Regions from separate parts of the Homo sapiens genome. Here region 2 is linked to region 1. Evidence: promoter capture Hi-C in human tissues and cell types (Jung and others, 2019). All regions are on one chromosome and are shown on one strand. The core of a region is centred on a gene start or on the middle of the fragment in contact, and the rest is flanking DNA. Distances in the headings are between cores, read along the strand shown. Region 1 holds the start of PLEKHM3 (pleckstrin homology domain containing M3). Region 2 overlaps LOC105373854 (a long non-coding RNA gene).

Region 1 (4,544 bases), core at 1,460-3,959:
ATATCTTATTATATGCACAGGTTTCACAGATTACAGACAGCAATTTTAGTAGAGAGACATTTTTAGAATTTTGCCTGCCACAGTCTTAGGTGTTGTTTCTTATCATTTGTTTGTGTTCTTTATAATTAAACCTCAATTACACAAATCTACTAAAAAAATGAATCTTACTGTTGACTGCCAGAAGCTGTATTTCCATAATGGCAAAGGCAACTAACTATGAATGGGGCTGCAGCATGCTAATAAAATTTTGAAAACATAACTTTGCTAACACTGGTATTTAAAAGTTTTAAATTGTGGTAAAATATATATAATATGAAATTTACCATATTAACCTTTTTTTTTTTTATGACATGGTCTTGCTCTGTTGCCCAGGCTGGTGTGCGTGGCGTAATCATACCTCACTTAACTTCCAACTCTTGGGTTCAAGCAATGCCCCCGCCTCAGCCTCCCAAAGCACTGGAATTACAGGCCTGAGCCATCATATCCAGCCCCATCTTAACTATTTTTAAGTGTACAGTTCAGTATTGTTAAGTACATTCACATTGTTGTGCAGCCAATCTCCAGAACTCTTTTCATTTTGCAAAACTGAAACTCTATACCCATTAAACCAGGAGTCCCCAACCCCCATGTCTGTAGACTAGTACGGGTCCATGGCCTGTTAGGAACTGGGCCACACAACAGTGAGCGATGGACCAGCCACGCATTGCTGTTTGAGCTCCGCCTCCTGTCAGATCGGCAGCAGCATTAGATTCTCATAGGAGCGCAAACCTTATTGTGAACTGTGCGTGCGAGGGATCTAGGTTGCACGCTCCTTATGAGAATCTAACTAATGCCTAATGATCTGAGGTGGAACAGTTTCATCCCGTAACTATCACCCCCCTACTCCCCGACCCCACACCACCCGCTCTGTGGAAAAATGGTCTTCCGGTCCCTGGTGCCAAAAACCACCAGGGGACCGCAGCATTAAACAACAAATCCCCATTGCCTGCCTCCCTCCAGGCCCTGGTAATCACCATTCCACTTTCAACACTGGCATATTTTTATTTTATATATTTATTAACAAACATGTATATAGCAATTACTATATGCCAGGTACGGTTCTAAGCCTTGAGCTCAGGAGTTCAAGACCAGCCTGGGCAACATGGCGAAACCCTGTCTCTACCAAATGTACAAAAATTAGCCAGGCGTGGTGGCTTGTGCCTATGGTTCCAGCCACAAGGGAGGCTGAGGTGGAAGGATCGCTTGAGTCCAGGAAGTCGAGACTGCAGTGAGCCATGATCACGCCACTGTACTCCAGCCCGAATGACAGAGTAAGACCCTGTCTCAAAATAAAATAAAATAAAATAAAATAAAATAAAATAAAATAACAATAATAAAAACCCTAATGAGGTCAATACTATTATTATTCCCATTCTACAGATTAGGAAACAGAAGCGCTAAGTAAACTGCCCAAGATTACACAACTAGGAAGTGACCAAGCAGGAATTCAAACTGAAGTAGTCTGGCTTTATAGTTTTTGCTATAAACCATGACATTGTAAAAATATTCATTGTAAAGAAAAACTCATCAGGAATTAGTATCATTTCTTCTATGTATATCTATCTATTGTAGGTGCAATTTAACCTAATATTCATCTCCTGTCTAAAAGACTATGTGACCAAGGTTACAAATGTCTACTGATATTTTTAGAGACTAGATATATAGCCCAGCTTTTGTTAAGGCATTTTCTTGAAGTCAGTCAGTCAAAAACTGCCTTGTATTTTAAGTATGCCAATTATAATTTACATGTAGTATTTTATAATAAAATACTTTATAAATACAAATCACAACTCACTACGATTACTTAAAATATAGAGAAAAAAATTCAGCTGTTTCTCTCTGGTCCCTTCCAAGGAAGAAAAAAGAAGAGAGAAATAAACTTCTAAATAAGTTTACAACAGCATGGCTCAATCTCAGTTTAACCTGGTAAATTCAAATTTGTCTTGCTTTGCAAGGTATACATCCAGACCAGTCTCAATTTGTCATCCAAATATATATCTCAGTAGTAATTTATTTTTGTTTAAGGGATGAGTGTGAGATTTTCTTATCTTGATTTTTTAGCTTAATAATTCTTTCCTACAAGACCAAACCATGCTTGTCATCAGTCATGTGGTGTCATTTACTATACATTAAAAACGGACAGAGTCGACAGAAAGAACAATCGTTTTCTGGAAGCCCCAGCCTGATGTAGGTTAAAAGCTCTGCTGGGGTTTGGTTTTATAATCCCCAGGCGGGGATGGCAGGGATACTAATAACGCACTCAACAAGATCACCTACTATTTCAACTACTTTCTCCTCCTATTACATACCTGATTCACAAAAATAAGCAGACAATGCATCATGTAATCTCCCCTCACCCATTAGCCATTGCAGTGTGGTACAATCTCCAGCACGTAATAAAAACCTGAGCATGCAAGAAACAGCAAAATCACTGCTATCCCTGGGAGCTGCTCGGATATTTACAATGCAGTCGTCCCCACCCCATCCCCCAAACTGGCCGGCCAGGCAGCACAGAAGCAGACGGATGCTCACCTGGGCCCCGGCTGCTACTCTCCATTCACCTGCGGGGCCTTCAGTCCGCTCCTGGAGGGGCTTGACTCCCGCAGCCTGCCGCCCGCCTCACGGTGACAGCCCGCCCGGGCGCTGACCATCCCGGCCCGGCTCTGTTTACAAGCGGCTTCTCGCGGTCCCACTCTGAAATGCTTCCGCCGGCGGCCCGGGCAGCCAGAGCCGGACACACAAGGTTCCAGGCCGCGAGGACGAGTCTTTCCTGCCCGAGGGACCCGGCAGCTAGGCAAGGCCTGACCGCACCCGCCAGGCCTCCTTATTTCTTTGCTTTCTTATATACAGTTCCTCTTGTACACATTGTGAAAGCAATGGCGTGTGTCGTGGAGTCTCCTCACTGCTCCACCCAACGCCAAAATGGGTGTTTGCGATTGGAAAATGTCACTTAGAACATGTCAGGATCGGGCTGGTTTTTAGCAGCTCCCTTGTCTAAGGGAATTAATTACTCAAATAAGTTCTTTCCAAAAGTGGGACTATTCTGGAGATTGCTTCTCATTTCCGGTTTTGGGGCTGCAGTGAAAATCCGTTTTCACTGTCCTTTCCTACGCAGGTTGAAAAGGGGTGGTTTTGAGGTGAGGTCTTCACCCCCACTTGCGGATTCCCAGCAAAATAGGGTGTGCGTGTGTGTGCACGCGGGCAGGACTGCCTGGTAAGACCGCCCACATCCCACCTGCAGTGACTGTGGTCGCTTTGCAGGGATATGCTGGTCTGATTGGACAGACCTTCCTTGCAGTTTCCTGTCTGTTTTCCATCATAGCACACTTCTTAGCCATTTTCTCACTTTATAAGTACACACTTATTTATCAGTTTTATTGGTTTTCCCACGCTCACCCATCTCACCTATAAACTCCCTGAGGGCAGGCACTATTTCAGTTTCACTCACCACCATCTAGTAGGCACCTAGCACAGGCCCAATGTATATATATCTGAATAAATGAATGAACAAAGGAATGATAAAAAAAAAAAAAGGTCAAAGGGGTCAGGGATGAAACAGAAATCTAAAACTCTGATTCCTCTTCCCACCTTCCCACCCTCCAGAAGATTAATAAGCAAATCTTTAAGCTTTGAGTTAAGAAAAAATTTCCTTTGGTTGATATTCAAAGTTTAAATAAGCTTTCTTTAAACCCTGCAATTTGAGGTACTTTTTTTTCTGTTTTGCTAGAGACAGGATCTCACTCTGTGCCCCGGCCAGAGTGCAGTCGCACGATCATAGCTCACTGCAGCCCTGAACTCCTGGGTTCAAGGGATCCCCCCAACTCAGCCTCCTGAGTAGCTAGGACTACAGGCACGCATCACCACAACGTGGCTAACTTCTTTTTTCTTTCTTTCTCTTTTTTTTTTTTTTGTAAAGGCAAGGTCTCCCTGTGTTGCCCAGGATGATCCTGAACTCCTGGCCTCAGGCAATCCTTCTTCCTTGCCTTCCAAAGTGCTGGGATTACAGGTGTGAGCCACCTCACCTGGCCAGAGGTACATTTTTTGTTTTGTTTTGTTTTAATTACCAAAAGAGAATATTTGCAGTATTCTCTTTTGCCTCAGGACTTTGTACATGTGATTCCCTCTGATGAGAGTTCTCACTCCTGGCCCATCCTCTTACTTAGGCTGGCTAATTTCTCTTTGCTCTTTAAGAAGCAGGTAACAGGTGCTTGGTCTCTCAAGTCACTTGCTTGGTCTTCTTCCAAGTGTTCTTTTCTTCTTTTCCTTCCCTTCATTACTACTCTAAAGCTTTTTAATAAACTTTCACTCTAAAAAAAAAAAAAAAAAAGGCCGGGTGTGGTAGCTCGTGCCTGTAATCCACGCACTTAGGGAGGCCAAGGCGGGTGGATCGCTGGAGGCCAGCGGTTCGAGACCAGACTGACCAACATGATAAAACCTCATCTCTACTAAAAATACAAAAATTAGCAGAGCATGGCGGTGCACGCCTGTAATCCCAGCACTTTGGG
Region 2 (4,447 bases), core at 461-2,960, 53 kb after region 1:
GTTGTTTGAGTGAAGTAAGCATTTAGGTACTTGTACACTCAGTACTTCTAGACTTCCATCAAAAATTCTTCCCCGCTAAAACATTGCACTTTAGGGGTGTTTGAGTCATCCTTGTGTGGCTGAGAAAAAAAGTCCTAAAAAGTGACAAGCTAGAATGGAGGAGGGATGTCACTCTTTCCAAGATCTAACAGAACAAAGAACAGCATGATTATGGGGGGCTCAACTGCTTTGTTTGCCCGTGGTTTGAGTTTGGCCAAGGGTGAATACCATTAAGGGATCTGAGAGTGGGAGAAGAGTGAGGCCAGGATATTTATTCACCTGTTTCCCTATTGCTGTGTCTCCACAGGTTGGCTGCATCCTTCTTCTGAAGGCCACTGCTCTTTTCAGAAGACCTCCCTAGATGGCTAAGCTCTCTGGGTTGCAACAGTTGCTCTTTTTCCTTGAGCCTTAGGTTAGGGAGTTGGGAGGAAGTAATGGCTTCCCCCACTGCTAGCTCCAGGGTGCTACACTTTCTCTTTTCTAGTTTCCCTAATCTGGCTTACACCATTATAGATAGACCCTTTATTAAAATATCCTCAATTTATCCATATTGAGTGTGCCATCTGCTTCTTTTTCGGATGCTGATGCTTCAGAGTGATATGGGAAAGTATCCCAGGCATTTTTGTCTCATTCATCACACCTAGAAAGATAATTTAGGATTTGATGATGAAATAGCATGGTAGAAAATATAGCATACAAAGTTTTTCCTTGGAAGACAATCACTGGACATTCTCAAGAATGGCAAGAGAAGGCATAATAAAAATAGCTGCCAGATGGGGGACAGGACTGACTTGCAGCTCTCATGCTGACTTGCAGCATGAGGAGACTCACATTGTGAACTTTTGCTCCAAGAACTACTGCAAGAACATACCAGGAAAACCAAAAGAATTCACAGACCCTTTGAAAGAAGAGTTTGCCGCTGCAAACTCCAAGACACAGCTGAAAAACCGTGAGTGCCCAGAGTGTGAGAGGGGGAAAGTCTCTTTCCAAACACACATCCTCACTGGGGAGCCTGAAAATCCATATCATGGGAGAAGGATTTAACCTTACCTAGAGCTGAGGCGAATTTAGAGAGCTGAGCAAAATATAAAAGTAGAAGCAGCAGCAGGAAGAGCCCTGTAGGCACTCCCGGTCCCCAGGGAAGCTCAGAGAACCCATTTCTGACTTTATCTCACAGGGGCCCTTGTGGGGAGCGGGCTGCCAGTGGAATTAGGGAAAGCCCACAGGGAGAAGGAAACTTCCAGCTGAACTTTATAATGATTTCAAGCATGAATTTTCCAGAGCAGAATCTGGGGTCGGGGGCAAACAGGAAGTCCAGATAGGAGCACAGAAGCCGCAGCGAGGAGGGGAAGGCCTGAAAGCCCTGCTTGCTTTATTAGGCGCGAGGCTTGTATGGTGGCGGTGGAGGGAGTTCCCAGTCCTGCTCACTGGCAAATAAACTCACCTAGATATAAACTCGGTGCTGTCGAGGAGCACTGGGAGAGTGAGACTGGCCTTTCAGTCTGCGTGGGAGCTGGGTGAGGCCCGTCACTGCCAGTTTTCCGCAACTTCCCTGGCGACCTGTATGACAGCAGAGGCAGCCATAGTCCTACTGGGAACCTACTCCAATGGCCTGAGAACCACACCCCCTCCCCCAAGGTGGCTGCGGCAAGCCCCGCCCAAGGAGAGTCTGAGCTCAGACCCACCTGACTCTACCCCCACCAGATAGATGGTCTTTCTCCACCTGCCCTGGTAGCCAAAAACAAAAGACGTACAACTCATGGAAGTTCTAGGGCCCCGCCCATCACCTGAGAAACCTGAAGGCTCATCCAGGAGACCCTAGGGCAAGCTTGCGTCCCCCCATACTACCGCAGCTGAAGTTGTCTGAAGTTGTCTTGAAAGCGCCACCTCCTAGCTGGAGGCCAACCAACACAAACTGTTACAGCAACTCATCAAAGAATAACCCTGCCCCAAGAAAGGAGAAAACAATGGTTAACTCCACTGCCTGTAACATCCTGGCTAACCAGAGGTCCTAAGTCTGTCCACATGATAGCTTTACTGTCAGTACAACCAGCATTTGAGAAAACCGGCACGCTAAACAAAACTACAACCAAGTACTCTTACAGAGTCCGCTTCACTCCTCTGCTACCTCCACTGGAGCAGGTGCTGGTATCCACAGCTGAGAGATCTGAAGATGGAGCACATCACAGGACTCTTTGCAGACCCTCCTCAGTACCAGCCCAGAGCCCAGTAGCTCCACTGGGTGGCTAGACCCAGAAGAGAAATAACAATCACTGCAGTCTGGTTCTCAGGAAGTCCTATCTCAAGGGGAAAGGGGAGAGCCCCACAGCAAGGGAGCACCCTATGGGACAAAAGAATCTGAACAGCAGCCCTTGAGCCCCAGATCTTCCCTCTGACATAGTCTACCCAAATGAGAAGGAACCAGAAAAACAATTCTGGTAATATGATAAAACAAGGCACTTTAACACCCCCAAAAGATCACACTAGCTCACCAGCAATGGATCCTGTGAAAGGAAAATATCTTGGGCCCCAAAATCACTAGGAAAAACTAGCTGGAAATTGCTTAGGGCAAATCTGCCTTCCATTCTATTCAAAGTTATCCCTCTGCTCATTGAGATAGATGCATATCTGATTGCCTTCTTTGGAAAGGCTAATCAGAAACTCAAAAGAATGCACTGTTTGTGTTTCACCTAACTGTGACCTGGAAGATCCCTCCCTGCTTTGAATCTTCCTGTCTTTGCTTCAAGTTGTCCCGCCTTTCCAGATAGAACCAATGTACTTCTTACATATATTGATTGTTGTCTTCTGTCTCCCTAAAATGGATAAAACCAAGCTGTGCCCCCGACCACCTTGGGCATGTCATCAGAACTCCCTGAGGCAGTGTCATGGTCCGTCCTCAACCTTGGCAAAATAAACTTTCTAAATTAACTGAGAGCTGTCTCAGGTTTTCTAGGTTCACAATCCAAACCAAGAAGAAATCTCTAAATGGCCAGCAAAAAAATTCAGAAGGTCGATTATTAAGCTACTCAGGGAGGCACCAGAGAAAGGTAAATACCAACTTAAAGACATTTTAAAAATGTTACAGGGTATGGAAGGAAAAATCTCCAGAGAAATAGATAGCATAAATAAGAAACAATCACAACTCCTGGAGATGAAGGACACACTTAGAGAATTGCAAAATACACTGGAAAGTCTCAACAATAGAATAGAACAAGTAGAAGAAAGAACTTAAGAGCTTGAAGACAAGGCTTTCGAATTAGCCCAATCTGAGAAAGACAAAGAAAAACAAATTAAAAAAATGAACGAAGTCTCCAAGAAGTTTGGGATTATGTTAAATGACCAAAACTAAGAATAACTGGCGTTCCTGAGGAAGAAGAGAAATCTAAAAGTCTGGAAAACATTTGAGAGAATAATTGAGGAAAACTTTTCCAGGCTTGCTAGAGATCTAGCCATCCAAATACAAGAAGCTCAAAGAACATCTGGGAAATTCATCGCAAAAAGATCATCCCCTAGGCACATAGTTATCACGTTATCTAAAATCAAGATGAAGGAAAGAAGCTTAAGAGCCATAAGGCAAAAGCTTCAGGTAATGTATAAAAGAATATCTATCAGATTAATAGCAGATTTCTCAGCAGACACCTTGCAACCTAGAAAGGATTGGGGTCCTATCTTTAGCCTCCTTAAACAAAACAATTATCAGCCAAGAAATTTGTATCCAGCAAAACTAAGCTTCATAAATAAAGAAAAGATACAGTCTTTTTCAGGCAAACAAATGCTGAGAGAATTTGCACTACCAAGCCAGCACTACAAGCACCGCTAAAAGGAGTGCTAAATCTTGAAGCAAAGCCTCAAAATACACCAAAATAGGCCGAGCATGGTGGCTCAAGCCTGTAATCCCAGCAGTTTGGGAGACCAAGGTGGGCAGATCACGAGTTCAGGAGATCAAGACCATCCTGGCTAACACAGTGAAACCCTGTCTCTACTAAAACCACAAAAAATTAGCCAGGTGTGGTGGCACACACCTGTAGTCCCAGATACTCTGGAGGCTGAGTCATGAGAATTGCTTGAACCTGGGAGGCAGAAGTTGCAGTGAGCCGAGAGTGCACCACTGCATTCCAGCCTGGGTGACACAGCGAGTCCCCATAACAAAATAAAAAAAGAAAAAAGAAATACACCGAAATAGAACCTTCTTAGAGCATAAATCTCACAGGACCTATAAAACAATAAAATAATTTTAAAAAAACATAAGGTATTCAGGCAACAACTTGCACGATGAAGAGAATGACACCTCACATCTCAATACTAATGCCAAATGTAAATGGCCTAAATACTCCACTTAAAAGCTACAGAATGGCAGAATGAATAAGAATTCACCAACTAAACATCTGCTGGCTTCCAGAGACTCACC

The links. The method cuts DNA at HindIII sites, captures the fragments that hold promoters and counts their contacts. A contact is called where the count stands out against the background at its distance.
Region 2: a fragment that was not itself captured here is called in contact with the fragment with the promoter of PLEKHM3 in region 1 in 1 of the 25 tissues and cell types used here (aorta).

The regions. Positions count from the first base shown.
Region 1 is chr2:208,022,818-208,027,361 of GRCh38, forward strand. It overlaps PLEKHM3 (pleckstrin homology domain containing M3), which reads right to left and starts at 2,710. Exons shown (of 8, transcript NM_001080475.3): 1 at 2,572-2,710. The HindIII fragment of the contact is 4,894 bases long and covers 1-4,021 here.
Region 2 is chr2:208,076,610-208,081,056 of GRCh38, forward strand. It overlaps LOC105373854 (a long non-coding RNA gene), which reads left to right. Exons shown (of 4, transcript XR_923815.3): 4 at 347-589. Among named protein-coding and RNA genes, the nearest start is that of CRYGD, 46 kb to the right of the region's middle. The HindIII fragment of the contact is 3,796 bases long and covers 1-3,608 here.